Regions from separate parts of the Homo sapiens genome. Here regions 2, 3, 4, 5, 6 and 7 are each linked to region 1. Evidence: promoter capture Hi-C in 16 types of primary human blood cells and fetal thymus (Javierre and others, 2016). All regions are on one chromosome and are shown on one strand. Each heading gives the region's core, a stretch centred on a gene start or on the middle of the fragment in contact. The rest is flanking DNA. Distances are from core to core; before and after follow the strand shown. Region 1 holds the start of GAPDH (glyceraldehyde-3-phosphate dehydrogenase). Region 2 overlaps LPCAT3 (lysophosphatidylcholine acyltransferase 3). Region 3 overlaps EMG1 (EMG1 N1-specific pseudouridine methyltransferase). Region 4 holds the start of C12orf57 (chromosome 12 open reading frame 57). Region 5 has its middle 16 kb from the start of VWF. Region 6 holds the start of ATN1 (atrophin 1). Region 7 holds the start of LRRC23 (leucine rich repeat containing 23).

Region 1 (4,083 bases), core at 1,030-3,529:
CTGACAACACCTGGGGCCTGTTTTGTTGTCATAGCCTATAGGGGAAGAATGCTACCAGCATTTGTGGGAAGAGGCCAGGGATGTGGCTCAACATCCTGCAGTGCACAGGATGGCCCCTCAACAAAGAATCACACGGCCCACAATGTCAATAGCGTCACAGTTGAGAAAACCTGCTCTAGACCAAGGGTTGCTTTCTGCCGTGTGCCTCACCCCACCCCCACTCGTGTTCCCTAATCCCATCTCCAAAGGTTGGCAGCAGACCGGCCCAGGCTCGTGGAAGTTCAGATCATGATCCCCTCCAGCTCTGCAGGAGACAAGACCTGTCTCCCAGCATTCCTCATTGTTCCCGGGTCTGCAGAGGGCGTGAGCTATGCTGCAGGCGGGCTGCCCCCTGAAGCCTGCGCACCCCTCTCCAGCTCCTCAAGTCTTCTCTGCTGAGTCACCTTCGAACCGGAGGCTGTGAGCTGGCTGTCGTGACCACACTGGTGCCTCTGCTGTCATGACAACAGCACACTACGTCAGTAGTGCTCCCTGGGCACTGAGCTCCCTCTTTGCGGGGAGAAGACAGTAATGAAAAATGACAAGCATGAGGCAGAGGGGAAGATCACGCTTGGGTGGTGCAGGAGCATGGAGGTGCTCTTAATGCTCTCAATGAGAAAGGGTTAACGGTCCTGGTTGCAGGAATAGCTGAGTCAGAGGTGGGGCTTCCTCCACTCCCCCACCCCACCCCTTTCACCATTAGGGACCTTCTTGCCTTGCTCTTGCTACTCTGCTCTGGGTGGTCATTGTGAAAAGCCCGCACCAACCATGCCAGTGGCAGCCAGACGAGGACACAGCCTGGCTCTGGGTCCCAGCAGGAAAGGCAATCCCAGAAAGGCAGGGTCAGGGACTGGAGTCCTGTGGGTGCTTTTTAAGCAAAGATTATCACCAGGCAGGCTAAACTTAGCAACCGGCTTTTAGCTAGAAGGGCAGGGGGCTGGTGTCAGGTTATGCTGGGCCAGCAAAGAGGCCCGGGATCCCCCTCCCATGCACCTGCTGATGGGCCAAGGCCACCCCACCCCACCCCCTTCCTTACAAGTGTTCAGCACCCTCCCATCCCACACTCACAAACCTGGCCCTCTGCCCTCCTACCAGAAGAATGGATCCCCTGTGGGAGGGGGCAGGGGACCTGTTCCCACCGTGTGCCCAAGACCTCTTTTCCCACTTTTTCCCTCTTCTTGACTCACCCTGCCCTCAATATCCCCCGGCGCAGCCAGTGAAAGGGAGTCCCTGGCTCCTGGCTCGCCTGCACGTCCCAGGGCGGGGAGGGACTTCCGCCCTCACGTCCCGCTCTTCGCCCCAGGCTGGATGGAATGAAAGGCACACTGTCTCTCTCCCTAGGCAGCACAGCCCACAGGTTTCCAGGAGTGCCTTTGTGGGAGGCCTCTGGGCCCCCACCAGCCATCCTGTCCTCCGCCTGGGGCCCCAGCCCGGAGAGAGCCGCTGGTGCACACAGGGCCGGGATTGTCTGCCCTAATTATCAGGTCCAGGCTACAGGGCTGCAGGACATCGTGACCTTCCGTGCAGAAACCTCCCCCTCCCCCTCAAGCCGCCTCCCGAGCCTCCTTCCTCTCCAGGCCCCCAGTGCCCAGTGCCCAGTGCCCAGCCCAGGCCTCGGTCCCAGAGATGCCAGGAGCCAGGAGATGGGGAGGGGGAAGTGGGGGCTGGGAAGGAACCACGGGCCCCCGCCCGAGGCCCATGGGCCCCTCCTAGGCCTTTGCCTGAGCAGTCCGGTGTCACTACCGCAGAGCCTCGAGGAGAAGTTCCCCAACTTTCCCGCCTCTCAGCCTTTGAAAGAAAGAAAGGGGAGGGGGCAGGCCGCGTGCAGCCGCGAGCGGTGCTGGGCTCCGGCTCCAATTCCCCATCTCAGTCGTTCCCAAAGTCCTCCTGTTTCATCCAAGCGTGTAAGGGTCCCCGTCCTTGACTCCCTAGTGTCCTGCTGCCCACAGTCCAGTCCTGGGAACCAGCACCGATCACCTCCCATCGGGCCAATCTCAGTCCCTTCCCCCCTACGTCGGGGCCCACACGCTCGGTGCGTGCCCAGTTGAACCAGGCGGCTGCGGAAAAAAAAAAGCGGGGAGAAAGTAGGGCCCGGCTACTAGCGGTTTTACGGGCGCACGTAGCTCAGGCCTCAAGACCTTGGGCTGGGACTGGCTGAGCCTGGCGGGAGGCGGGGTCCGAGTCACCGCCTGCCGCCGCGCCCCCGGTTTCTATAAATTGAGCCCGCAGCCTCCCGCTTCGCTCTCTGCTCCTCCTGTTCGACAGTCAGCCGCATCTTCTTTTGCGTCGCCAGGTGAAGACGGGCGGAGAGAAACCCGGGAGGCTAGGGACGGCCTGAAGGCGGCAGGGGCGGGCGCAGGCCGGATGTGTTCGCGCCGCTGCGGGGTGGGCCCGGGCGGCCTCCGCATTGCAGGGGCGGGCGGAGGACGTGATGCGGCGCGGGCTGGGCATGGAGGCCTGGTGGGGGAGGGGAGGGGAGGCGTGTGTGTCGGCCGGGGCCACTAGGCGCTCACTGTTCTCTCCCTCCGCGCAGCCGAGCCACATCGCTCAGACACCATGGGGAAGGTGAAGGTCGGAGTCAACGGGTGAGTTCGCGGGTGGCTGGGGGGCCCTGGGCTGCGACCGCCCCCGAACCGCGTCTACGAGCCTTGCGGGCTCCGGGTCTTTGCAGTCGTATGGGGGCAGGGTAGCTGTTCCCCGCAAGGAGAGCTCAAGGTCAGCGCTCGGACCTGGCGGAGCCCCGCACCCAGGCTGTGGCGCCCTGTGCAGCTCCGCCCTTGCGGCGCCATCTGCCCGGAGCCTCCTTCCCCTAGTCCCCAGAAACAGGAGGTCCCTACTCCCGCCCGAGATCCCGACCCGGACCCCTAGGTGGGGGACGCTTTCTTTCCTTTCGCGCTCTGCGGGGTCACGTGTCGCAGAGGAGCCCCTCCCCCACGGCCTCCGGCACCGCAGGCCCCGGGATGCTAGTGCGCAGCGGGTGCATCCCTGTCCGGATGCTGCGCCTGCGGTAGAGCGGCCGCCATGTTGCAACCGGGAAGGAAATGAATGGGCAGCCGTTAGGAAAGCCTGCCGGTGACTAACCCTGCGCTCCTGCCTCGATGGGTGGAGTCGCGTGTGGCGGGGAAGTCAGGTGGAGCGAGGCTAGCTGGCCCGATTTCTCCTCCGGGTGATGCTTTTCCTAGATTATTCTCTGGTAAATCAAAGAAGTGGGTTTATGGAGGTCCTCTTGTGTCCCCTCCCCGCAGAGGTGTGGTGGCTGTGGCATGGTGCCAAGCCGGGAGAAGCTGAGTCATGGGTAGTTGGAAAAGGACATTTCCACCGCAAAATGGCCCCTCTGGTGGTGGCCCCTTCCTGCAGCGCCGGCTCACCTCACGGCCCCGCCCTTCCCCTGCCAGCCTAGCGTTGACCCGACCCCAAAGGCCAGGCTGTAAATGTCACCGGGAGGATTGGGTGTCTGGGCGCCTCGGGGAACCTGCCCTTCTCCCCATTCCGTCTTCCGGAAACCAGATCTCCCACCGCACCCTGGTCTGAGGTTAAATATAGCTGCTGACCTTTCTGTAGCTGGGGGCCTGGGCTGGGGCTCTCTCCCATCCCTTCTCCCCACACACATGCACTTACCTGTGCTCCCACTCCTGATTTCTGGAAAAGAGCTAGGAAGGACAGGCAACTTGGCAAATCAAAGCCCTGGGACTAGGGGGTTAAAATACAGCTTCCCCTCTTCCCACCCGCCCCAGTCTCTGTCCCTTTTGTAGGAGGGACTTAGAGAAGGGGTGGGCTTGCCCTGTCCAGTTAATTTCTGACCTTTACTCCTGCCCTTTGAGTTTGATGATGCTGAGTGTACAAGCGTTTTCTCCCTAAAGGGTGCAGCTGAGCTAGGCAGCAGCAAGCATTCCTGGGGTGGCATAGTGGGGTGGTGAATACCATGTACAAAGCTTGTGCCCAGACTGTGGGTGGCAGTGCCCCACATGGCCGCTTCTCCTGGAAGGGCTTCGTATGACTGGGGGTGTTGGGCAGCCCTGGAGCCTTCAGTTGCAGCCATGCCTT
Region 2 (4,083 bases), core at 800-3,299, 480 kb after region 1:
TCTGGGTACACTGTGGTAAACAAAACTTCCATGGTTTCTGTCCTCATCTACAAATATATAATTACAAAGTGTAATATATACTTGGAAGGAAATTCCGGTCAGTATGAGAAAGTGTAACAGGGGACATAATTGAACATGAGAGTCAGGAAAGAACTCAGAGGAAGATGAAAAGGAGTTTGTCAGGTGACTGAAGGGCACTCCAGGCAGCAGGTAAGCGTGTGCAAAGGCTCTGAGGTAGGGAAGCCTTCATGCCTTTCCTGAGGAACTGAACAAAGGCCATGTGGCTAAAAGGTTGTCAGCTTGCTTGGGACGAGGCTGGGGCAGCAGGCAGGGGCTTACCAGCCAGGTATGGAAGCCCCTGAAGGGTTCTGAGCAGGAGAGGCACAGGATCGGATCACTCTGGCTGCTTTTGGAGAGTGGACTGAGGGGGCAAGAACAGAATTAGAGACTAGTCAGGAGGCTACTTGGGTGGTGCTGGTGACAGATGGTTAGTGGCTGTGGTGATGGAGAATAGTAGATGGATCTGAGACACAATCCAGAGGTTGTATTGATAGGATTGGGTGACTGGGATGTGGGGAGTGAGTGAAGAAAGGCAACAAAGCTGATTCTTGGGTTTCAGGCATGAGCAGCTGTGTAGATGACTGTGTCTACAGAATCTACCTTTCAAAAGGTTCCGGTATTCCTAGACCATCTCACAGGAGATGCCCACTTTCTCCTCTCAGCACAGCCACCCTGCCTCCAAGTCATTATAACTTCCTCTCTAGATCACTTCTTTCTCCTTAGTTTCCCTACTACTTGTCTATGCTGACTTCAAATCACCCCAGGCTGTATTATCTTTTTAAATACAGCTCCAGCCATATTATTCCCCACTCAAAAATCTCCAATGTTCCCTATCACCTACGTGAGTACTAACTCTTTACCTTGGCTTTAAAGGCTCTTTAACCTACAGTTCCAGCCTGATTTTCCATCACTTCTTTAAAGTCCTGTTTTAGTCACACTAGACTACTGACTGTTCCTTGGCTGTGTTGCCACATTCACACCTCAGTGCCTCTGCTCATGCTATTCCTTAAGTCTTACCATCTCAGCATGCTGAAACCTTACTCATCTTTAAATGAAATGTCCCATCTTTAAATCTCACAAAGCTCTGTACCTCTCTTATGGTGCTTAAAATTTATTGGGGTTATTAGTATACTTATCTCAGGCCCATTTCCTATACCCTAACAGACCATAATACCTTTGAGTGCAGGGCTCCTGACTCATACTACACCCACTGCTCCTGCCCTTGCAGGGTTAAGAATACTGCTTTACCTGTAGTAGGTGCATGTTACTGAATTTATATGAGCAATTCATGGTATTAGTTACATTAAGGAGTGATGAGATCCAAGCTGTTGAAGGGGAGATGTTTTCTGGTAGTATTTGCCAGCACCAGGGCTCATGGCAAAATTCCTCTTCAGCATCCTTCCATCAAACTCCTTGCAAGCATACACCACACAAACATAAACACACTCCTTTTACAGTCTTCTGACTGCTCAAAATACTCCAGTGCAGCAGTCCACATAAGCTTACTTTTTCTTTGAAGTATTGAATATTAAAAATTGCAGCCTCGGCTGGGCGCGGTGGCTCATGCCTGTAATTTCACGCCTGTAATTCCAGCACTTTGGGAGGCCGAGGCAGGTGGATCACGACGTCAGTAGATTGAGACCATCCTAGCCAACATGGTGAAACCCCGTCTCTACTAAAAACACAAAAATTAGCCGGGTATGATGGCGTGCACCATAGTCCTAGCTACTCAGGAGGCTGAGGAGGAGAACTGCTTGAACCTGGGAGGCGGAGGTTGCAATGAGCCGACATCGAGCCACTGCACTCCAGTGTGGGTGACAGAGCGAGACTCCGTCTCAAAAAAAAAAAAAAAAAAAAAATTGCAGCCTCTAACTCAAGATTTTTCAAACTGTTGTAACTCATTAACAAGTCATGAAATCAACTTAGTGAGTTATTATTAAGGGCAAGTATTCTTTCCTGAAACTTGTTTCAAATACGTGTATACACATACAAGTCTGTGTGTTCTGGGTCACAATGTAAAACATATTTCTTACGATGGATCTTAGTCAAAAAGGTTTAAAAGCCAGTGCTTTAATGCTCTGCATTCCACCCCAAGATCAGCACACAGAACTGAAGTAAAAAAAGTAAGATGTTAAGAAAATAGTAATTAGACTATCTGATTAAAACGTACACTTGAAAATGTGAATGATATACCTAACTCTTCCCTTGGGGTATTTGCATTTAGGGAGGTGTTTTTAACCTGAATTAATCTAATCAGTGGAAAGTGAACCAGAAATCATTTTGGACTACAGGCTTTCTTGGTACCTCCAGCAAGGATTTCCTCCAGTATCCCAGTTCCCTGAGAGAGCTGGGTTCAAGAACCAGGAACTCCACTGCTGAAAGGCTACTGGTTTCTAGGTTACAATACACAGAAATGGTAATAACCTTTGTAAGGGAAACATATTTACAACCAAAATGCACTCCTACCACGCACACATCAAGCTTAATCAATTTATATTTATATGTATGTATTTAAACTGTGCCTACTAGGAATACAATCCTACCCGTCCACATGATGAGCTATACCTGATAGGAGGCAAGTTGAAGCCCCAAGTTGATCTAAAAATGAGAAATACTATGAATTACTGAAGGCAACAGGGTATGTGAGATAGGAAGGCAGGGTGTGGGAAATGGTAGAATGAGCAAGGGGGCTCGGGAGTGTGGTAGATGCATTACACCAAGTGTTTATTACTTTGATGATTGGTGGTAATGAGAGAAGATGAGAGAAGAGGAGTGGGATATGGAGAAAACAATTTCCTAGTCATCTGTATGCCCCGTGACAGTACACAGCAATAGCCCAGCAGGAGTGCACAGGCAATATGTGATTATGTCAACAAACAAAAGTTGAATTCTTTATGTCAACAAACAAAAGTTGAATTCCAAGTCCTAATTCCAGCCCTAACTCCATTTAACAGATTGCCCCTTATAACTGGTTGCTACTTGTGTTACATTCTGAATTTATTGTTGAGAAACCAACAGTTTCCTAACTAATGAATGTAATACAATTTTTTTTTTTTTTTGAGACAGGGTCTTGCTCTATCCTTCAGGCTGGAGTGCAGTGGTGCCACGGCTCACTGTAGCCTCAAACTTCCAGGCCCAAGTGATCCTCCCACCTCAATCTCGGGAGTAGCTGGGACCACAGGCATGGCATGAGCCACCACGCCCAGCTCATTTTTTTATTAATTTTTTTTTTTTTTTTGGAGACAGAGTCTTGCTCTGTCACCCAGGCTGGAGTGCAGTAGAGCTAACTTGGCTCACTACAACCTTCACCTCCAGGGTTCAAGTGATTCTCCTGCCTCAGCCTCCCAAGTAGCTGGGATTACAGGTGCCCACCACCATGCCCAGCTAATTTTTATACTTTTAGGAGAGATGGGGTTTCACCATGTTGGCCAGGCTGGTCTCAAACTCCTGACCTCAAGCGATCTGCCCACCTTGGCCTCCCAAAATGCCAGGATTACAGGCATGTGCCCCTGCGCCTGGCCTAATTTTTTGTAGAGACAAATAAAATGTTGCCCAGGCTGGCCTCAAGCGTTCCTCCCACCTTGGCCTCCCAAAGTGTTACGATTATAAGCATAAGCCGCTGCGTCCTGTCAAATGTAAACACTAATTGCTAATTACAATGTCAAAAATAACTGGGTCAGAAACAAGGATGAAAGAGTAGGAAGTTCAAAGCTGGTGTAGTGCAAATAAGCCTAGACTAGGGTGCTGATAAATTTGGATGATGTCTGGGTGACACTGAGCAAACTGCACAACCCCAGTTCCATTCCATCTTTAAAATCTTACGATTCCACAGAGGAAGAAAAAGGTGATCTTTATTTGGAAGAAAGGAAGATCTTGGTTTGATATGTAATAGGAAAGTAACAATGCTATTAGGCAAGGTTGTTTAAATATGAATTAATGCCTATCCCATTATCTAGATTGGGTTAACACCCTCTGGTGATATTATATATCAGTGTTTCTACTGAATACTGGATAAACGCCAAA
Region 3 (4,083 bases), core at 1,584-4,083, 440 kb after region 1:
TTTATCTATCATTCATCTCTTTCCCCACATGTAATAGAACCAGCAGTTCTCTATCTTAAAGCCTTGGGCAGTGTTCTTCCTCCTCCTTTCTCTTACCCGTTAGAACTAATTGAATAGGCCCAGAAGAAATCGCATTGGTTTAGAAGTCAGGCCAGGATTTTAATCTTCGTTCTAAATACACTTTTTTTTTTTTTTTTTTTTGAGATGGAGTCTCAGTCTCTACCAGGCTGGAGTGCAGTGGCACGATCTTGGCTCACTGCAGCCTCCGCCTCCCGGGTTCAATCGATTCTCCTGCCTCAGCCTCCAGAGTAGCTGGGATTACAGGCCTGCGCCTGTAATCTATTAAAAGAATAGAAAACATGATTATATCCTACTAATGGGTTGAAACTGTATTATTCATTCAAGAAGGTTTTTTTCTTCTATAACTAAGGGTGTCTCATGGACTTAGTTCTTGGTCATTTGTTCTTTGTGCTCTCTGTGACATTACTTCAACTATTCAATTTCAAAATCTACATCCCTTTTTTCGCAGACTTTTTGGAGCCATATATCTCAAGAATGTTGCTAGACATATACATTCCAGTGATACATAAAAACTTAACCTTCCAAAACTTGTATTTGTATATAACAGTTTGTTTTTAGACTTTTTACTGACCACCCTAATGCTCCTTGGGACTCCAAATTGCAACTTGGAATTATTTCTTTTAGCTGCTACAGATGTAGTCCACTTCTTTAACATCAAACTTCTGATGTCTTTTCCAGTGTACAGAGAGTTGTTAGGATAGTGTCTGTCAGTCATTCCCATCCTGCCCTGCTTACTCCAGAATTATTTTTGGCTTTGTGCTTGATACATTAGGATTCTGTGGTTTACAAAGCAGCTTCATATATAATCACTGCCCTTTAGTGTCTCAGCTCCCAATTTTCCTCAAAATTTCCTTTCTTCGTTTCCACTTTTTCTTTTTTGTTTCTTTTTTGAGATAGGGTCTTGCTCTGTTGCCTGGGCAACAGAGTGCAGTGGTGTGATGGTTCACTGCAGCCTCTACTTCCCTGGCTCAAGCAGTCCTCCCACCTCATCCTCCTGAGTAACTGGGACTGCCAGCAAATGGCACTGCGCCTGGCTAATTTTTTTTTTTTTTTTTGTGAGACAGGGTCCCACCGTGTTGCCCAGGCCGGTCTCAAATTCCTGGGCTCAAGTGATCCTTCCACCTCGGCCTCCTAAAGTGTTGGGATCACAGGCATAAGCCACCACACCTGGCTACTTTGTCTTGATTCCATCTGTACCTTTGCTCATGCCAGTCTTTCTTTTTTCTTTTTTTTGAGACAGGGTCTTGCTGGAGTGCAGTGGTACAGTCTTGGCTCACTGCAATCTCTGTCTCCTGGGCTCAAGCCATCCTCCCACCTTAGCCTCCCAAGTAGCTAGGACTACAGGCATGTGCCACCATGCCCAGCTAATTTTTGTATTTTTAGTAGAGATGGGGTTTCGCCATGTTGCCCAGGCTGGTCTTGAACTCCTGACCTTAAGTGATTTGCCTGCCTTGGCCTCCCAGAGTGCTGGGATTACAGCCGTGAGCCACTGCATCTGCCCCCATGCCCGTCTTAAAACTGGGAATAACCCCTCTTCCTTTTACTTCTGAGAGTTTTCTTTGATTAAACTGCCTCCTGCATCATTAGTTTTCACATTTCTTTTTTTTGAGATGGAGTCTCGCTCTGTTGCCCGGGCTGGAGTGCAGTGGCGCTGCAAGCTCCGCCTCCTGGGTTCATGCCATTCTCCTGCCTCTGCCTCCCAAGTAGCTGGGACTACAGGCGCCTGCCACCATGCCCGGCTAATTTTTTATATTTTTAGTAGAGATGGGGTTTCACCGTGTTAGCCACGATGGTCTCAATCTCCTGACCTTGTGATCTGCCCGCCTCGGCCTCCCAAAGTGCTGGGATTACAGGCGTGAGCCACCACGCCCGGCCTTCACATTTCTTGTTCAGATTTGCAGCTCTTCACTTAGTGCATGTTTGGTGTACGCAAACTGAGGGTGGTGACTCGATATTTTGCACAGTACCTACTTACTGCTCCTGTAATAAACACAGCATTCAGCCTTGCTAACTACTAACTCCTGCCTAGTTCCAGGATGTCTCATTGGCCTTGCCTAACAGCCACAGGTTTTTTAATTAAATCCAGTGTATTAGTAGATAATGTGAAGTCACAGGTTGTGCCCTTCCTCCTGTTTCCCTCTCAGACCATTCACTGGGGAGTGCAAATAAGGCTGCACAGTAATCCCCCGAAGGGCTTGCTGGGCTCCACCCCCAGTGTTCCTGGTTTAGTAGGTCTAGGGTGGGCCTGAGAATTTGCCTAACAAGTTTCCAGGTGCAGCTGCTGCTGGTAGTTTGGGGACCACACTTGAAGAACCACGGGGCTAGGTAACAGAAGCTTATGCTGTTCTCTCGTCATGTTCCCTGTTCTTCAGGTAGGGAAGACATATGAGCTACTCAACTGTGACAAGCACAAGTCTATATTGTTGAAGAATGGACGGGACCCTGGGGAAGCGCGGCCAGATATCACCCACCAGGTAACTCCAGGGACAGTGCTCACAACCCTTTGAGCCTCTGTATGGAAGGGTTGGCAGCTGAGTGCTGCCTCTCTTCAGCCTTAACCATGTCTCGGTTTCTGCTTTGCTCAGAGTTTGCTGATGCTGATGGATAGTCCCCTGAACCGAGCTGGCTTGCTACAGGTTTATATCCATACACAGAAGAATGTTCTGATTGAAGTGAATCCCCAGACCCGAATTCCCAGAACCTTTGACCGCTTTTGTGGCCTCATGGGTAAGAAGCCTTAGAACAAAGTTAGAATGAACTTGTCAGTAGGGAAGAAGGGAGGAAGAGGAAAAGGGAGAACTAAATGTGGATTTTTAAGCGAGAAAATGGGAGAACAACATGATTAATACCAGGACAAGGACTGTTATTATTTTTCTATGTTTGTGGAAACTCCACTCCTGTTCTTGCAGTAGCTTCCTGGCTGAGTGAAAGAGGGAGTCTGAACCCATCACTGTACAGCTAGCCATATGCTTGGCAACTGTTTGTTCCTAACATTTCAGGAGTCCAGTCTAGATATAAAGCACACAGGGAACTCATCTTATCCATGGGGTTTTCCTTGTTCGATGACTGGACAGAAGGACTGTGGTCTCCATCTAGCTCTGAACTCTTTTTTCCCCCTTCTAGTTCAACTTTTACACAAGCTCAGTGTTCGAGCAGCTGATGGCCCCCAGAAGCTTTTGAAGGTGAGGTATTGAAACCTGTTAGTTGAAGGCTGGTTCTGGGAATGTTTCTGGGGCTGACTTTTCTCTCTTTTTTACTTTAGGTAATTAAGAATCCAGTATCAGATCACTTTCCAGTTGGATGTATGAAAGTTGGCACTTCTTTTTCCATCCCGGTTGTCAGTGATGTGCGTGAGCTGGTGCCCAGCAGTGATCCTATTGTTTTTGTGGTAGGGGCCTTTGCCCATGGCAAGGTAAGGTCTGGGCTCAACCCTGAAATTCTTGGTAGAGCTGAACTTAGTATAGAATTCCCAGAGCAGTAGGCATTTTAACAATGCTTACAATGAGCTAGAAGACACATGACAGTTCCACACCCTGCCCCAGGGCACATCCTTTGAGGGCTGCTGCCATAATTGGAAGTCACAGTTAGGACCTTCTTCATCCTTTGTAGGGATTTGATATTCAACAGCACAGCTGAAATACTAGCTCAGCCATAGTTTTCCTGCCCTAAAGAAGGGCTGAAACAGCTACTGAGTGACAGAGTTGGCTGACAAAACTGTTCTTTTCTTAGGTCAGTGTGGAGTATACAGAGAAGATGGTGTCCATCAGTAACTACCCCCTTTCTGCTGCCCTCACCTGTGCAAAACTTACCACAGCCTTTGAGGAAGTATGGGGGGTCATTTGACAGTAGTAGAACCTGTTCTGAAACCAGAAACTGTTGATGTCACATCCTTTGACCCTGGTCTGAGCTGACTGCTGGAAGATGATCTTTCTGCACTGAGACTGTGGAGTTTGGGGAAGCCAAGGCTGTACATTTGCTATTTGTTTATCCTATGAATACTGT
Region 4 (4,083 bases), core at 770-3,269, 410 kb after region 1:
CGCACAGAATCTTGGACCAGGTCTCTCTTCCTTGTCCCCCCTGCTTTTCTCCTCCCCCATGCCCAACCCCTGTGGCCGCCGCCCCTCCCCTGCCCCGTTGGTGTGATTATTTCATCTGTTAGATGTGGCTGTTTTGCGTAGCATCGTGTGCCACCCCTGCCCCTCCCCGATCCCTGTGTGCGCGCCCCCTCTGCAATGTATGCCCCTTGCCCCTTCCCCACACTAATAATTTATATATATAAATATCTATATGACGCTCTTAAAAAAACATCCCAACCAAAACCAACCAAACAAAAACATCCTCACAACTCCCCAGGAACATGGCTGTGACTATTCTTTGCGGGATATGGGGGTGAGGCTGGGTCTCAGTGCAGCGGTGCTTAGAGAGAACTGCAGCCAGGGCCTGGCAGGGAAGCGGGAAGAGACCAGACCTTCTTAAGGAACGGGGTGTGGGGGCTGGGAAGAATTGGAGAGGGGATCCCTGAAGAGCCCAGAGCCTTGACTCAGCTGGAGGCGGTACCATGGGTGCTGGTGCCCCCTCCTGCCCCAAGGCTGGGCAGGACCGCTGCGCGCCAGTGGAGGCCTCGGTCTGGGCTCTGTGGCTTATGCCTGTGAGACGCGGGTGGATTGCTTGAGCCCAGGAGTTGGAAACCAGCTTGGGCAACATAGAGAAACCCCATCTTAAGACAAAATCAGCTGGGGGTTGTGGTGCACTTGTGGTCCCAGCTACTCAGGAGGCTGAGGTGGGAGGATCACTTGGGGGTCGAGGCTACAGTGAGTCATGATCGCACCACTGCACTCTAGCCTGGGTGACAGAGCAAGGCCCTATCTCAAAACAAACAAACAAAAGACACCCCAACCAACCAAACACTAGAGGCCTGGGACAGGCCCACCTCTGACGTGGTCAGTTCTAGGAATCTATTCAGACGGGTCTCACTGCTAGGAGCCACCAGAGTCCTCCGGAACAAGGGCTTCAGAGTCCTGAAACCTTTCCGTGGAATACTTTAAGAAACGGTTATGAGGCCAGGCGCGACGGCTCACGCTGGTAATCCCAGGACTTTGGGAGGCCGAGGCGGGCGGATCACGAGGTCAGGAGTTCCAGACCAGCTTGGCCAACATGGCAAAACCCTGTCTCTACTAAAAACAAAACATTAGCTGGGCATGGTGGCGCGCGCCTGTCGTCCCAGCGACTTGGGAGGTTGAGGCAGGAGAATCGCTTGAACCCGGGAGGTGGAGGTTATGGTGAGCCAAGATCCCCCCCAGCTGCACTCCAGCTTGGCGACAGAGCAAGACTCCGTCTCAAAAACAAAAAACAAAGCCGGTTATGAAGCGGGGGTGGGGTGGGCTAGTTTTAATAGGTCCAGGCGATTAGTACCTGGCATCCTTAACCACCTACAGTTTGAGAAGGGAGTGGGTGATAAAAGCCTGGAAGGGAAGGGAAATCGGGCCGGGCATTAGGCTCCATCGCTCATCAATAGACAAGGCCTTTAGGAAACTGCGACAACGGCTTTTGCTCTGGGCCTTTACTGCCGAATCCAGGTCTCCGGGCTTAACAACAACGAAGGGGCTGTGACTGGCTGCTTTCTCAACCAATCAGCACCGAACTCATTTGCATGGGCTGAGAACAAATGTTCGCGAACTCTAGAAATGAATGACTTAAGTAAGTTCCTTAGAATATTATTTTTCCTACTGAAAGTTACCACATGCGTCGTTGTTTATACAGTAATAGGAACAAGAAAAAAGTCACCTAAGCTCACCCTCATCAATTGTGGAGTTCCTTTATATCCCATCTTCTCTCCAAACACATACGCAGCAGTGTTACAGCTCTTTTAGAATTTGTCTAGTAGGCTTTCTGGCTTTTTACCGGAAAGCCCCTCTTATGATGTTTGTTGCCAATGATAGATTGTTTTCACTGTGCAAAAATTATGGGTAGTTTTGGTGGTCTTGATGCAGTTGTAAGCTTGGGGTATGAAGGTTTGGGCCACGCCTGGGCGCTTCCGGCTGCGCCGGATGCTGTTTCCTTTCCGCTCCCAGGGGCGTTGGGAACGGTTGTAGGACGTGGCTCTTTATTCGTGAGTTTTCCATTTACCTCCGCTGAACCTAGAGCTTCAGACGCCCTATGGCGTCCGCCTCGACCCAACCGGCGGCCTTGAGCGCTGAGCAAGCAAAGGGTGAGAATCGTCCTAGTCAAGGCATAGGCTGCTGGCCTGGGGTAGTCAAGGCATGGGCTGCTGGTCTGGGGAGGATGCGGGCGGAGGATGTGGGGCGACAAACCTGGCTACGTCCGCCGGGAAAATGGGGTAGGGGACGCCGGGTACCGTCCTTCTAAGTGGGGCGCTTGCCCCCAAGACTTGGGATCTTATTGGGTTACCTACAGCCTCAATCCACTAATTCCTTGCGCTCTCCGCTGGGCCCGCTGTCTGTTCTCCGACGCCTACCCGGGACGCCTCCCTGGGATGCTTCTGGCGCGCAGTGGTCCTCGCGGAGGTGATCCAGGCGTTCTCCGCCCCGGAGAATGCAGTGCGCATGGACGAGGCTCGGGATAACGCCTGCAACGACATGGGTAAGATGCTGCAATTCGTGCTGCCCGTGGCCACGCAGATCCAGCAGGAGGTTATCAAAGCCTATGGCTTCAGCTGCGACGGGGAAGGTGGGTCAGACGCGGGAAGGCGGGTCAGACGCGGGAAGGCGGGAGTTGGGTCGGGAGAGGGCGCCGGATCTGTGGGCCCATGAGCGGTTGTCCCCTTTCTCGCCACACGGCGGCAGCCACAATCTGACTAACATTCTTGGCACTCAGAGCCCAGGGTCTACCCTGAGCTTGTGCGTCCGAGTTGCGTTTTGTACAGTAGAGGTTCTGTATCCCTTACCCGAAATGGTTGGGACCGGAAGTGTTTCGGGTTTTTTCAGATTTCGGAATATTTACATATACATGGATATCTTGGGGGATGGGACCTAAATCTGAACACGAAATTGTTTTGTTTCATATACACGCACCTTATGCACATAGCCTGAGGGTAATTTTATATAATAGTCTGAATAATTTTGTGCATGAGACAAAGTTTTGACTGCGTTTTGACTACAGTCTCCCCCACCCCCCACTATGAAGTCAGGTGTGGAATTTTCCATTTTCGGCCTCACACTGGCACTCATAATTTCAGATTTTGGATTTTCTAATTAAGGATGGTCAACCTGTACTGTTAATCACATTATTATTCCATTTTGTGATGAGGAAGCAAACTCTAATGGTGCAGACTCTCGAGTAGCAGAGCTGGACTTAAATGCTGTTGTGCCACCTTTTAGTGACATGTCTGCATGACAGCAGTGGCTGCAGTCTCTCCAGGGTGTTTCAGCTAATTTTTGTTTGGGGGGGGTTGGTGGTTAAATTTTTGGTGAGATCCTGGTGTTCCCCAAAGGTGTTGACTGATTCAGCTCTGCTGCCTCATAGCCTTCCTGAGTTCCAGCTACAGACCTGGGGTCTCGTGTTCATTCTTGGGGTTCCAGTGACTAAACTGCTAAAATGGTTCACCTGAGAGCAAGAAGCACACTGCCTTGGGACATTTTCATTCACTGCATCCCATCTAGTTGTGCCCAGTGTAGACCAAATGTCATCATCCAAACCACACGGGACAGAGGCCTGCATGCGTCCTGTTTGGCAAACAGCTGCCCAGCCAGTGGGGGAGCAGTTCATGCTTAGACTACCACCCCCTCCAGGTGTCTTAGGCACGCTGGTCCTTAGGAGAAGGGTTGACCTTCCACTCCCTCTTGCAGGTGTCCTTAAGTTTGCTCGCTTGGTCAAGTCCTACGAAGCCCAGGATCCTGAGATCGCCAGCCTGTCAGGCAAGCTGAAGGCGCTGTTTCTGCCGCCCATGACCCTGCCACCCCATGGGCCTGCTGCTGGTGGCAGCGTGGCCGCCTCCTGAGAGTTGGCCCTCCCTTGTGCCACTGCCAGGGGAGGAAAGGCCTTGATGTTCCAGACAATAATAAATGCGCCTGTGACTTAGCCTTGGTGTCAGTCTCTTGCGGACCTGACAACCCCCATCTCTCCTTCCCTGATTCCCTCTGCCTTTCCAGGCCCCATCCCCC
Region 5 (4,083 bases), core at 795-3,294, 390 kb before region 1:
TGAGGATGCTGAGGCTCAGACAGGGTAAGGGCCTTGCCTAGGATCACACTGCTACCAAAGGCAGCCAGCATCTGAATCTACCTGATTACAAAGTCCGTGTTTTCTCCACTATACCTATAACTCTTCCATAAGCCTTTTCTCCTTTCCTCCCACCCTTCACCCCCGCTTTTCCTGCCTTTGAACCACCTCTGGGTGCTTCTGTGGCCCTCTCATCTTTTCATGCATTTTTCTTTTTTTTGAGACGGAGTCTCGCTCTGTTGCCCAGGCTGGAGTGCAATGGCGCGATCTTGGTTCACTGCAACCTCTGCCTCCCTGGTTCACGCCATTCTCCCACCTCAGCCTCCCGAGTAGCTGGGACTACAGACGCCCACCGCCACACTCAGCTAATTTTTTGTTTTTATATTTTTAGTAGAGACGAGGTTTCACCGTGTTACCAGGATGGTCTTGATCTCCTGACCTCGTGATCTGCCCGCCTCGTCCTCCCAAAGTGTTAGGATTATGGGCATGAGCCACCGCTCCCAGCCTTTTCATGCATTTTTGTTTGTCTTATCTCCTCCAGTCTGAGCTCTCCTTAGAACAAGACCTTGCCTTACTCATCTCTGTATCTTCCAAAGTGCTCTGTCTGGAGCATAGCACATGGTAAGTGCTCCATAAATGTCTGTTGAACTCCCTGCTAGTAGAACAATGATGTGGGTTAATTAGCATATAATATTAAAATGTAGCTACAGAACTGAAACTGCAGATAAAAAAAATTGCTTAATACCCAAGGAAGTTGTTGCCTGCTCTCCAAATCATCAGCACAGAAGATAGCACTCGTCACTGTGGTTGGGGAAATTGCACGGTGAAAGTCACAGGATGGCTCTGCAAGGGGGCAGGGACATCAGACTGGGGTCACGTTCCCATGTGGTATTCTGCGCCTGTAACTCATATGACACTCTGGCACTATTTCTAAATAACACTCAAGTGTCTGTTTTATCAGAGTATAACACACTTGGCTGGAATAGTTCACTTACTGATATTCCACAATTTATGTAACCAGTTCCATATTATGGGATATTTATTTAGGTTAGTGCTACTTTTTTTTTTTTTTTTTTTTTTTTGAGATGCAGTCTCGCTCTGTCACCCAGGCTGGAGTGCAGTGGCGCAATCTCGGCTCACTGCAAGCTCCACCTCCTGGGTTCATGCCATTCTCCTGCCTCAGCCTCCCGAGTAGCTGGGACTACAGGCACCCGCCACTACACCCGGCTAATTTTTTGTATTTTTAGTAGAGACAGGGTTTCACCGCGTTAACCAGGATGGCCTCAATCTCCTGACCTCGTGATCCGCCCGCCTCTGCCTCCCAAAGTGCTGGGATTACAGGCGTGAGCCACCACTCCCGGCCTACTTTTTTTTTTTTTTAATTAACAATGCTGCAGTGAACATCTTTGAAGCTATATCCATGCACAACCCTCAGGATTACTCCCACAGGATGAAATCCTACATGTGGAGCACTGGGTCAGCCACCGTCCACATTTTCAGTGAGGCCTTTGACAATAAGGCCAAATGGCCCCCCTGAAAAATTGCAATGGTTTATAATGGTTGCAATGGTTTAATTACCCATTTGCTGAGTAGGATTTTGCCAGGTGAAAATGAGGGCAAAGGCACATCAGCTGCAAGGAAGGAAGTAAAAGCTTAGAAGCAGGCAAGCTCTGAGATGCTAAATCAGTAAGTAGGTGAATAAGCCAGTTGTTACAGCCTATAAAGGAGACTCACAGGAAAAGAGACCAAAGAGAGGAATAAGAGGCAAGTCCTCAGGGACCTTCAACCAGTGTAGGGGTTTATGTTCATCCTGTGACACCAGATGAGGCCCTCTGGCAGCAGTGGCATGTATTGTGAGAGGTCAGATGGAGAAAGGGAGATCCATTAGTGGTTGGTGGAACCTTCCCGGACAGGGAAGACGAGGGCCTGGAGGAGACCATGGGTTTGACAAGAGAAGAGCAGATACAGCCAACCACGTAACACATTACGGTAGCAGAAGAACAGCCAAAGATGTCTACATCCCATCTCAAACCTCTGAATGCTACCTTACATGGCAAAAGGGATTTTGCAGATGTGAGCAAGTTAAGGGTCTTGAGATGGGGAGATGATCCTGGCTTACCCCAGAGTATCCTGCTGGGCCGATATAATCACAAGAGTTTTTATAAGAGGAGCAGGAGGGTCAGCATCAGGGAAGGAGATGTGATGATGCGAGCAGAGGTCATGCAACGCGGGGCCACGAGGCAAGGAATGTGTGCCCCTGGAAGTGGATAGAGGCGAAGAACAGGTTCTCCCATAGAACCTACAGAAGGAATCCAGCTCTTCCAACACACCTTGATTTTGATCCAATTCGAGCTTCTTACAATTACGAATTGTAAGATAAATTTGTGTTGTTTCAGGCCACTAAGCTTGTGGTCATTTGTCACTGCAGCAATAGAAAACTAATATAGGCCAAGATATCATGCCACACAACCTGCTCCCTTGCCCTCATGGAGGGTGTCCCAAGGCAGCTTTGCCAAATAAGTTAGAGGACAATTAGTGCTGTGAGGCTCAAGGAAGAAGGATCCCTGAGGACCACAGTATGAGAGCCATTAGAACTTGGGCTGATGTAAACAGCATTAAGTACAAATGGGAAGGGTGCGTGACCTCTGGGGGCGCATGGGGCAGGGCTGCTCAGAGGCAGGGGGATGGGTAAATTGACCTCTGCCTGTCTGAGGAGTAAGTTCTCCAGGTAACTAGTACAAAAGCAAAAGAACCTCAGGGGAGGAAAGGTTTTCTAGGAGGACCCATCTTTGTCTTTTCTTTGTATATTTGTAGCATCTCTCTTACGTAAATTCTGCAGGAAAGAGAATTTTCTTGGCAGTATGCGCCAAATAAATAAACACAGCAGTATTTCTTAGGCCAGACGACCAGCTCCCAGCATAAAGCTGTAGCCCCCAGCGGAGAGGAAGCTGTCCTCCTCTACTTCCTCTCTTCTAAAGACAAACATCTTGTGCAAGAATAACATGCTCACTTCCTTCACAATCATCAAAATAGAGAGGACCCACCCACGCTACAATGTCAGAAGAATGGTGCAGCTTCAGACTCATCTTCCCTGGTTCTCAGGAACAATGACACCACATTATTGCTGCTATCGAGCTACAGAGAACTCAGACCATTACATCTGGTGGCATTCCTGGCCCCAGTAGTAGCACAGCAGGATTCCTGACCCCAGAATCACTATCTCAAGACCTGGGGTTCTAATTTGAGAGGCAGAAAGTTACAGCAACTCAAATTTATATGCATCTTACAAAATAGCTTCAAAATACATAAATTGACAATTGACTTCAAAAAGGCTTTCTCAATTATCCATAGGTCAGGCAGATAAAAATCAGTAAAGATAGAAATTTTAAAAACAATGATCAGCCTAGGCAACAAAGTGAGACCTCATGTCTACAAAAAAAAGAAAAAATTAGCCAGGTGTAGTGGCACACATCTGTCATCTTAGCTATTCAGGAGGCTCAGGCAGGAGGATTGCTTGAGCCCCGAAGTTCCAGGCTGCAGTGAGCTATGATTGCACTGATGCAGGGCAAGTAAGCTCCCAAATTGGGACTTAGCCCTGGAAGATTCTTGGCTTTGCTCAGGAAAGAATTCAAGAGCCAGCTGGTGGTAGAAGAAAACAGCTTTATGGAGGCAGCAGTGTGACAACTTTATGACTACTCCTGCAGAGCAGGGCTAACCCCTAGGCAATGTGTTGAGAGCACCAGCTCAGGGGCAGGTCAACAGTCATACATATACCCACTTTCAATTACTTGCAAGTTAAGGTATTGAGAGGTGACAGCGTGCTGGCAGTCCTCAGAGCCCTTGCTTGCTCTCAGCACCTCCCCTGCCTGGGCTCCCACTTTGGCGGCATTTGAGGAGCCCTTCAGCCCCCCACTGCACTGTGGGAGCCACTTTCTGGGCTGGCCAAGGCTGGAGCCCGCTCCCTCAGCTTGCAGGGAGGTGTGGAGGGAGAGGCGCGAGCAGGAAGCAGGGCTGCGTGCCGCGCTTGCGAGTCAGCTGGAGTTCCGGGTGGGCGTGGGCTTGGCG
Region 6 (4,083 bases), core at 973-3,472, 390 kb after region 1:
GAGACCAATGGGTTGTGGGGGGCTGAGCCAGAGAGGGAGCTGGGGTGAGGGATGGCTGGGGCTGTGTGTGTGCGTGTGCGTGTGTGTGTGTGTGTGTGTGTGTGAGAGAGAGAGAGAGAGATGTCCCCTGCAGCTGGACTATAAGCCTGGCCCTCAGGTAGGGGAGGAATGGGAGAGGGTAGACAATGGTTTCTTTTGTGACTCTCACCATCCCCTATCCCCACATATGCCTAAATTTTTCTTTTAGTATCCATTGTAGCCCATTCCTTAGTGATTAAAAAACAAGGGAGAAGAGCTCAGCCTGGAAGGGATTTGGAAAGGGCTTGAGCCAAGGCCCAGTGGGAGACTGAACTGAGTGGTACAGAAAGAGAGGAAATGCCATGGGGAGAGAGGGTGAGAGGGAAAGGGGGAGCCCTGGAACAAAGTCAGGGGTGGGGAGGAGCAGCAGCTACCCTAGAGCAAGAGGAAGGGAGTCGGGGTGCACAGGGAGACAGGGAGCTGGCCTGGTCTCAGGGAGGCCCTGGGAGGAAGGTGTGCTTGGAGTGGTAAAGTGAGTGCCAACCAATTCAAGGGACTTCAGAGTGATGACTCATTCCCAGGCCAAGGAAGTGTTCCTGTTCCTGCGCCCAGTTCCCCAGTGCTCTGGAATCTTGTTTAGAGCTTTTGAGTATTCCCAGAACTTTGTTGAATCTGGCCCAAGGAATTGTGAGACAAAAATCTACTGAGCTGCTCCAGAGCTAACCTCCTTCCTTCCCTGAAGGCAGGTGGGATCTTGCCAATTCAGGGCCCACCCTTAGCCTCCAGCAAGACTGGCCCCACAAGTACCCGACCCCCACCCCAAATCTGGAGCTCTACTGAGGGCTCCTAATCCACACTCCAGCTCCAGCTCTTCCGGCTTGCCAGCCTGCCTCCCTCCCATTCTCTGGCCTTCCCAATTTCTGCTGCCAAAAATCACCCTGTGTCCTTTGTCCTGGGAGATGTTGCCGCTTGGTGGAGGGCCAGGAGGGAGCCCAGGAGAAGGAACTGGTGGTGGGCTGGCGGAGGTGCTGGCTTCACGGCCGGGAGCAGACTGACTGCCAGAGGCTACCTGGAGAGCAGGGGAGGGAGAGGAAGGGTTGGGAGGAGCCTGCAGTCTGTGGTGGGGACTGTCTCCACCTTAGAACAAGTGGGATTGAGCAACAAGGATACCCAGGGATTTGGGTCCACATTAAGCCCAGTCTTCACCCGACTGCTTCCCTGTGACCCAGGGGATCTTTAGTGATGACTTTCAACAGATTTGAGAAGGAAAATGGAGATGCCACTAGATGGAAGGCCTGAGGATGGTGTCTCACTCCTCCAAGCTGTATCCCTTACCTATCTACCCATGAGCTTGCCAGCAACCTCCCCCCGCTCCCACATCTGTCATTTCCTTTAACTGCCCTCGTTTCCCATCTCCATTTTTTCTTTTTTTTTTTGAGACGGCGTCTCGCTCTGTCTCCCAGGCTGGAGTGCAGTGGCGCGATCTCTGCTTGCTGAAACCTTTGCCTCCCAGGTTCAAGGATTCTCCTGCCTCAGCCTCTGAGTAGCTGGGATTACAGGCATGCGCCACCACACCCGGCTAATTTTTGTATTTTTAGTAGAGACGGGGTTTCGCCATGTTGGCCAGGCTGGTCTTGAACTCCTGACAAGTGACCCACCCGACTCAGCCTCCGAAAGTGCTGAGATTACAGGCGTGAGCCCCCGCACCGGCCCCATCTCCATTTTCTTTTCCCATCCATGATCTTTCCTCTTCCATACTGCCGCCAGCCATAGGCCTTGTTCAGCTTACATTTCCTTCCAATCTTCTTATCCCCCTCTTCCCCATTCTGCCCGCCCAAGTAAACCCTCCTCGGCTCTACTGGGAGCCCCCACCCCCAGGATCCAGCCAGCCCGGTGTCTCCCACCCTTCTTTCCCATCCAGAGCCCTCCTTTCTCACCCAGAACCTATTTTCCCTAGAATTGGCACCTGGGCCCACCTCGTTCATCCCTTCTTAAGGTTCCTCACGCGTTCCCTCCTCTCTCTCCTCACTGACGTTTCCTCTGGACTTCTCTCTCTCCAGCATTCCTTCATCCCCCCACCCCCAATTCTTATATTTATGACTCTTTTGTCAACACTAATCACCCCCAAAAGCTTTACTTTTTCCAGAAGCCCCATCTTTCTATATATGTCATCTTTTCAATTTTTCTCTCTCCTTATGACCCCAAACTTCCATCCCATTCTCTCTGATAATAGCCCCCAAACCCGTCTGGCTCCATCTCTGCCACAGATCCCTCACCCCAAGCTTCTCTCACTTCTCACCAGGCACCCACAAAGCCCCCAGGCAGCTCCATCTTTCCAATCCAATCCCATTATCCCAATCTCTACCCCAGGATCCCCCAAACTCCTCCCACTTCACCTCTGCCACAGACCCGCTCGCCCCCAAACTTCAGCCTCCCCTCATCTGCCCTCACCACCCACAGCCCCTCCTACCTAGCCCTCTCCCGCGCCGGGCCCGCGGGCTCCCCACATTCCGCCACGGCTAGCCCTCCCCGCGCCCCGGCCCCCTCGGCCTCGGCCTCGGCCAACTCGCGCTGCGCCTCCCCCTCTCCGGCTCCCCCTCTCTCCCCCCTCGCGGCTTGCCTCGCGCTCCCTCCCTCGCGTCTCCCTCCTGGCCCCTCTCTCCTCCGTTCCTCCGCGCTCCCTCCTTCTCCCTCTTCCTCCCTTCTCCCATCCCCCTCTCCCAGGCTCCCTCCCTTCGCCGTCCGCTTTCCTGTGCGAGTCGCCGGACGCACCGCCCAGCCCGTCCGCAGCCCCGCGCCGGGTCGGGGCCTCGGGCCGGGCCATTTCGGAGGGACCGCGGCTTCGGGGAGGGGCTAGGAGGGGGGAGAGGGAGCCGACTGCCGGGGAAGGGGCGGGGGCCGCGGGCGAGGCGGCCGAGGGGCCCGGGATCGCGCGGGTGCGGGCTGCGCTAGGCGGGCGCGGGCGGCGGCGGGTCGGAACCGCGCCGAGGGCCGGGCGGGCCGCGGGGCCGGGCGGCGCGGCGGGGGCGGGCGGCGCGGCCCGGGGCATTCCGGGCGGCCAGGGGGAGGCGGCGAGCCCGGGGAGGTGGGGAGCAGAGCGGGGATCGGGGTTTGCTCCGGGGGCCGGCGGGCGATTGGGGCCAGGCGGGGAAAAGGGGGGATGGGGGCCGCCCTCCGGGGGGGTCGGGGCCGCCGCCGCCGTCGTCGCGGCGGCGACTGAGGCCGAGAAGAGGAGAGGGGGGCGGGGGAGCTGCCGCCGCCGCCCCCCAGAGGCGCCGGAGCCCGGAATCCCGCTCGGAGCCAGCCAGCCGTCCCGAGCTACCAGCAGGTAAGGTCTGCGGCCGCCTGGGCCCCGGGCCCGCGGGGTTCTGTCCCGCCCGGGCTCCGGCCTGCGGCTCCCCACCCCCACCCCTCCCAGTTCCCCCTCCTGCCGCCGCCGCCTCCATTTGTTATTTTCCCAATCCCGTCCCCCCACTGCGGGCTCTGCCTGGCCTGAGGGCCGGGGGCTCAGGGGGTGGGGCCCGCCGAGGAGAGTCGGGGGCCAGGGTTTCGGGAGGATCGGGAAGGTGGGGAAGGAGGGAGGGTCTCCGGAGGAGGCCTGTGGGGCCAGAGGGTATCCGGGACCCGCAGACTCAAAAGAGGAGGAACATCGAGGCCGGGGTTGGCGGAGGAAAACGGGGGATGCTGTGAGTGGGGTTCCGGGCGAAGGCAGAATGGATAGGAGAGATGGCAGCGAGGTGGGGCATGAAGCCTCCAGGAAAAAGCTCCAAAGGACCAGAACACGGGTTCCGGAGCCTGGGGTTGGGGGCTTTAGGAATAGACGGGAAGTGGGAAACGGGAAAGGGGTGTGGTAGGTGGAAAGAGGGATTGTGGCTGATGAACCTGGGGGAGACGGAGGCTTGGGCAAAGAGAGGTCCATTTTTGAGAAGAGCCGGAGGTTTTCCAGCGTGGAAGAGGGAAGGCCATGTCTTTGTGACGGTTTTCATTCCCCTACTGCAGGTCACCTCTGACCCTGTTTTCCCTATCCCAGACATAGTTATTTCTTGGAGAGGGCACTGGGGCCCA
Region 7 (4,083 bases), core at 1,584-4,083, 370 kb after region 1:
TTAGACAGAGTCTCGATCTGTTGCCCAGGCTGGAGTGCAGTAGCGTGATCTCGGCTCACTGCAACCTCTGCCTCCCGGGTTCAAGTGATTCTCGTGTCTCAGCCTCCCAAGTAGCTGAAACTACAGGCACAAGCCACAACGCCTGGCTAATTTTTTTTCTTTTTTTGAGACGGAGTTTCACTCTTGTTGCCCAGGCTGGAGTGCAGTGGCGCGATCTCAGCTCACTGCAACCTAGGCCTCCTGTATTAAAGCGATTCTGCTGTCTCAGCCTCCCGAGTAGCTGGGATTACAGGTGCGAGCCACCACCCCAGCTAATTTTTTGTATGTAGAGACGGGGTTTCACCATATTGGCCAGACTGGTCTCAAACTCCTGACCTCAGGTGATCCACCCGCCTAGGCCTCCCAAAATGCTGGGATTACAGGCGTGAGCCACCACGCCCAGCCTAAATATTACTTTTATAATTGAAAGAGACTCTATCTAGACCAGCCGATGGGGGAAAAATATCAAGGATGTTGTGGAGTATCTAGCTCTCATTACACAGTGTAACTTCAGTCCTTGCCAACTAAACACGAAATAAAACCTTCAATAGCTCCCCACAGCTTTCAGGATAAAGTCCAGATCCTTCAGTGTGATCCAAGTCTGTTTACTGCTTCTACCATATTCCAACCCCCGACTGCACCTACTGTTCCAGCCAGCAGAACCACCTGCTTTCTTTGCACAGGCATTGAGCTCTTTCTTCTCCAAGCATTACCACAGGTGATTCCTGCCTCTGAAATCTCTGCCCCGAATATATGATATCATGTATATGCATATACTATACAATGATCCCTAGCACTTAGTAAAAGCTCTATAAATGTTGGGTATGATTATTATAACATGTCTCATTATATTGAATTACTTGTGTACTTAATCTTGTCACTGAACTGTACACCTCTTGAAGATAAAAGATAAGGACTTCTGTGCTTTACTGTCCCGGAGCACAGGGACAGATTAAGTGCTTAACAAAAGCATGGCAGGGCGCAGTGGCTCATGCCTATAATCCCAGCACTTTGGAAGGCCGAGGCGGGCGGATTGCTTGAGCCCAGGAGTTTGAGACTAGCCTGGGCAACATAGCAAAACCTTGTCTCTACAAAAAATACAAAAAAATTAACTTGGCATGGTGGCGCACACCTGTAGTCCCAGGTACCCAGGAGGCTGAGACGGAAGGACTGCTTGAGCCCAGGAGGTGGACGTTGCAGTGAGCTATGATTGCTCCACCGCACTCCATCCTGGGCGACAGAGGGAAACTCTATTTCAAAACAAAAATAAAAACAAAATAACAAAAGTGTATGTTCAAGGACACCTTCCTAACCCTTACATCACAACTTTTCTTCCCATCTAATGTGTCTTCCTCTTTCTTCTTGGCCAAGGAAACTCATATCCATTTCTTTTGACTACATCAAACCACATGGATTTTTCCCTTCTCCACACTCCAACAATACAATAACTTTCATTTGTATAGCACATCTCACTCTTCAGAGTGTTCATATTTATTATTTCTTTTTCCTCACAGCAACCCCAGTACCAAGGACACAGGCCAGGGGTGGGGAGGAGCAGGAAAATGTTTACTAAGGGTCAACTAAGTGCAAGGCGATTTACCCACATTATCTCTTTTAATCCCTTAACAATCCTTACAGGTGGACGTTTTAATAATCCCCATTTCACGACTGTGGAAATTAGACCTCAGTAAGATTTCATAACCTGCTGAAGGACACACAGGTATTAAGTAGTAGAGATGGGTTTTGAAGCTGGTGTCTCTGACTTTAAAGTCCCTACTGGTTCCATGACACCAAGTAAACAGATTTGCCTATTAACCACATTCCTCCAAGCTGCCCTGGGCAGGAGGTAATATAATACTTCCTGATTTCTTGCCCACCACATCTTCCACCAGACCACTTTGCCGTTATATAAAGTCTGTGGGCACAATTTAACAATGAATCACATGCCATCTTACCTGGTTACCTCATTGTTTCATTTACATTAGATTCCACAACAAGATTGGTAACATCCCCCTTTCCCCAGGCAGGAATTGTGTCATCTTAACCTCCCTGAGCCTCAGTATCCTCTTCTTTCAAATGTCTATCTTACAGGACTGTTGCAGAGATTAAATATCAGTTGTAAAGATGTTTGACATAATGTCTCGCACAAACTCTCCAGAAATATTTATTGCATCTCAACATCTTTTTCATCTCCTTCAACATGTCAGACAGGCCTGAGTGCCTGGGTTTGGCTATGCCAGTTCCTGTTGATTACTGATATAACAACGTTGGATCAGGAGTATTTTAGTGGGCAGATGTTGAATTTTCTGCCTTCCACCCACTAAAAGGTTTGCATCAAACCAGTCCAGGATAACTCATACTGGATCCCTGTCAGTTGATATAGTTAAGCTAATTCTACAGATAACAAAGAGTCTTGGGTACGTTTAGCTAGCAAATGCAGATCTGCCAAGACTCCAACCCAGTTCTTAAGGTATCTGGGTCTGGACTCCTTCCGCTCCACCAAGCCACCTTCCAAAGGTCTACCTGAAAATAACTAATGAGCAGAAACTATAGGGGGAAGGGGAAAAGACCCCTTATCTTGGTGTTTCTTGCTTTTCCTCGCAGCCCCGCCCTTTTTGCTTCGAAGGACGAGTTTTTCCTGAATTCACAATACTTTTGCATTGAAGATGTCCGGTCCCTTTAAGGTCTTGGGTGACGTAATGACTAGCCCCGCCCCCTCTCTTCTCGCTTCTCAGCCCTGCCCACTTCTTTTTGTCCTCAGCCAATTAGCGGCCCAACGCCCCTTCCGCGCCTCATCCGGGTTCCCGGGACGGGAAAGTGGCGTGGTAACCAGGCAACTACTGATCAATCCCCTCCCCGGCTGATTTGCGCATCAGGTAGTCGCCGCTCTACTCTCAACGGTGGCGAGCTGCAGTTGCCAAGTGCCCCGTCCCCGTTGCCATAACAGCAGTACACAACCCCTCCTTCCCCTCGCCCGCTTGCTAAACAGTCCTTCCCTCTCGGGACCAAGGGCCTCTCCAGAACTGCTTCTGATTGAGCAGAAACAGGGTCTGAGCCCCTTTGCTAAGGCGAATTGAGTGGGAGGGTTGGAGACTGCGCTTTAGGCTGGTGTACCAGAGGGCCCAAGGAAATTGGCCCAGTGGGGAGGGAAAAGTAGAAGAAATGAATGGAGCAGGGATTACGGATGGCGCAATGGGAGCTGAGAGGAGAGGAGGAGGAATTGGTAGGGAAGATTGGAGAGCATGGCTTAAGGGGGAGGTGGGAAGAATGGGGGAGAGGGAAGCCCAGGAAATAGGGACACCCGGCTGCTGGAGGAGAGCTGGAGTCACTGTGAAGGACAGGAAAGGCCTGGGGGTGTGGGTGACATCCTGAAGGGAGGGGGTCCTCAGTGGAAAGTGTGAAGTGGGAGTTGAGAATCAAAATGAGATGTTCACAGGGATAAGGAAAGAAGCCTAGAGTTGGTGGGTCAGAAGTCATGGGGGTGATGGGAGTGGCACGTGTCAATGACGATGAAGGAGCTGAAGGCTGGCAGAAGCTGATGAGACCTTCTTTTTCAGGAGGAGGACTGAGCTTATCTGACTCCAGAGCTTTCAGGAGGGAAGAAAGATGTCAGATGAAGATGATCTAGAAGACTCTGAGCCAGACCAGGATGATTCTGAGAAAGAAGAGGACGAGAAGGAGACAGAGGAGGGGGAGGACTACAGAAAAGAGGGGGAAGAGTTCCCTGAGGAAGTGAGAGCCTGGACAAGGAGGGGTCCTAGGGCTGAAGGAGGGGGTTGGGCAGGGGAGAGACACCTTACTCCACTTCTACCTGCAGTGGCTGCCCACCCCCCTCACGGAGGACATGATGAAGGAAGGGCTTTCTCTGCTCTGTAAGACAGGCAATGGGCTGGCTCATGCTTATGTCAAGCTGGAGGTTAAAGAGAGGTGCGTTTTGGGGGGACCAGATGAGGACTGTGAGACTGTAGGGCCCCTATCTCCTTTCCCACTGTCATTCCTGGGTGTTCTGGTTGAGAGTTTGACTCTTCTCATGCCTAGTGGAAA

What was found. Contacts are between HindIII fragments. The CHiCAGO score rates a contact against its expected background, and 5 or more counts as called.
Region 2: a fragment that was not itself captured here is called in contact with the fragment with the promoter of GAPDH in region 1 in 3 of 17 cell types (activated CD4 T cells, naive CD8 T cells and naive CD4 T cells); the score reaches 6.7 in activated CD4 T cells.
Region 3: a contact is called between a fragment that was not itself captured here and the fragment with the promoter of GAPDH in region 1, in 5 of 17 cell types (non-activated CD4 T cells, activated CD4 T cells, naive CD8 T cells and 2 more). The highest score is 10.4, in non-activated CD4 T cells.
Region 4: the fragment with the promoter of C12orf57 here is called in contact with the fragment with the promoter of GAPDH in region 1 in 2 of 17 cell types (activated CD4 T cells and non-activated CD4 T cells); the score reaches 8.2 in activated CD4 T cells.
Region 5: a fragment that was not itself captured here is called in contact with the fragment with the promoter of GAPDH in region 1 in 3 of 17 cell types (non-activated CD4 T cells, naive CD4 T cells and naive CD8 T cells); the score reaches 10.1 in non-activated CD4 T cells.
Region 6: a fragment that was not itself captured here is called in contact with the fragment with the promoter of GAPDH in region 1 in 7 of 17 cell types (activated CD4 T cells, non-activated CD4 T cells, naive CD8 T cells and 4 more); the score reaches 12.1 in activated CD4 T cells.
Region 7: the fragment with the promoter of LRRC23 here is called in contact with the fragment with the promoter of GAPDH in region 1 in 9 of 17 cell types (non-activated CD4 T cells, total B cells, activated CD4 T cells and 6 more); the score reaches 10.0 in non-activated CD4 T cells.

The regions. Positions count from the first base shown.
Region 1 is chr12:6,532,238-6,536,320 of GRCh38, forward strand. GAPDH (glyceraldehyde-3-phosphate dehydrogenase) reads left to right here and starts at 2,280. Exons shown (of 9, transcript NM_002046.7): 1 at 2,280-2,332; 2 at 2,573-2,624. The coding sequence starts at 2,596. GAPDH-DT (GAPDH divergent transcript) reads right to left here and starts at 2,170. Exons shown (of 2, transcript XR_002957397.2): 1 at 1,227-2,170; 2 at 1-906. RefSeq lists enhancers at 422-551, 512-1,285, 1,286-2,059, 2,060-2,833 and silencers at 1,462-1,711, 2,432-2,571. The HindIII fragment of the contact is 4,237 bases long and covers 1-3,969 here.
Region 2 is chr12:7,012,996-7,017,078 of GRCh38, forward strand. The region is part of intron 1 of LPCAT3 (lysophosphatidylcholine acyltransferase 3); the gene reads right to left. Among named protein-coding and RNA genes, the nearest start is that of LPCAT3, 3.4 kb to the right of the region's middle. The HindIII fragment of the contact is 980 bases long and covers 1,560-2,539 here.
Region 3 is chr12:6,971,886-6,975,968 of GRCh38, forward strand. It overlaps EMG1 (EMG1 N1-specific pseudouridine methyltransferase), which reads left to right. Exons shown (of 6, transcript NM_006331.8): 2 at 2,454-2,555; 3 at 2,667-2,808; 4 at 3,205-3,263; 5 at 3,344-3,493; 6 at 3,811-4,083. The coding sequence ends at 3,924. Among named protein-coding and RNA genes, the nearest start is that of EMG1, 3.0 kb to the left of the region's middle. The HindIII fragment of the contact is 838 bases long and covers 2,415-3,252 here.
Region 4 is chr12:6,942,003-6,946,085 of GRCh38, forward strand. C12orf57 (chromosome 12 open reading frame 57) reads left to right here and starts at 2,020. Exons shown (of 3, transcript NM_138425.4): 1 at 2,020-2,171; 2 at 2,474-2,650; 3 at 3,769-4,000. The coding sequence starts at 2,120. The coding sequence ends at 3,920. RNU7-1 (RNA, U7 small nuclear 1) reads left to right here and starts at 1,814; the gene lies at 1,814-1,876. It overlaps ATN1 (atrophin 1), which reads left to right. Exons shown (of 10, transcript NM_001940.4): 10 at 1-319. RefSeq lists enhancers at 1,828-2,407, 1,907-2,096, 2,397-2,516, 2,408-2,987, 2,527-2,676 and 3 more and a silencer at 2,310-2,569. The HindIII fragment of the contact is 10,579 bases long and covers 1,959-4,083 here.
Region 5 is chr12:6,138,192-6,142,274 of GRCh38, forward strand. No RefSeq gene overlaps it. Among named protein-coding and RNA genes, the nearest start is that of VWF, 16 kb to the left of the region's middle. The HindIII fragment of the contact is 753 bases long and covers 1,669-2,421 here.
Region 6 is chr12:6,925,039-6,929,121 of GRCh38, forward strand. ATN1 (atrophin 1) reads left to right here and starts at 2,921. Exons shown (of 10, transcript NM_001940.4): 1 at 2,921-3,346. It overlaps LOC124902868 (a long non-coding RNA gene), which reads right to left and starts at 2,658. Exons shown (of 2, transcript XR_007063194.1): 1 at 2,489-2,658; 2 at 1-1,087. RefSeq lists enhancers at 1-105, 806-1,505 and silencers at 2,530-2,579, 2,760-2,919. The HindIII fragment of the contact is 151 bases long and covers 2,148-2,298 here.
Region 7 is chr12:6,901,989-6,906,071 of GRCh38, forward strand. It overlaps LRRC23 (leucine rich repeat containing 23), which reads left to right and starts at 2,834. Exons shown (of 8, transcript NM_001135217.2): 1 at 2,834-3,087; 2 at 3,597-3,771; 3 at 3,857-3,966. The coding sequence starts at 3,646. The HindIII fragment of the contact is 20,869 bases long and covers 1-4,083 here.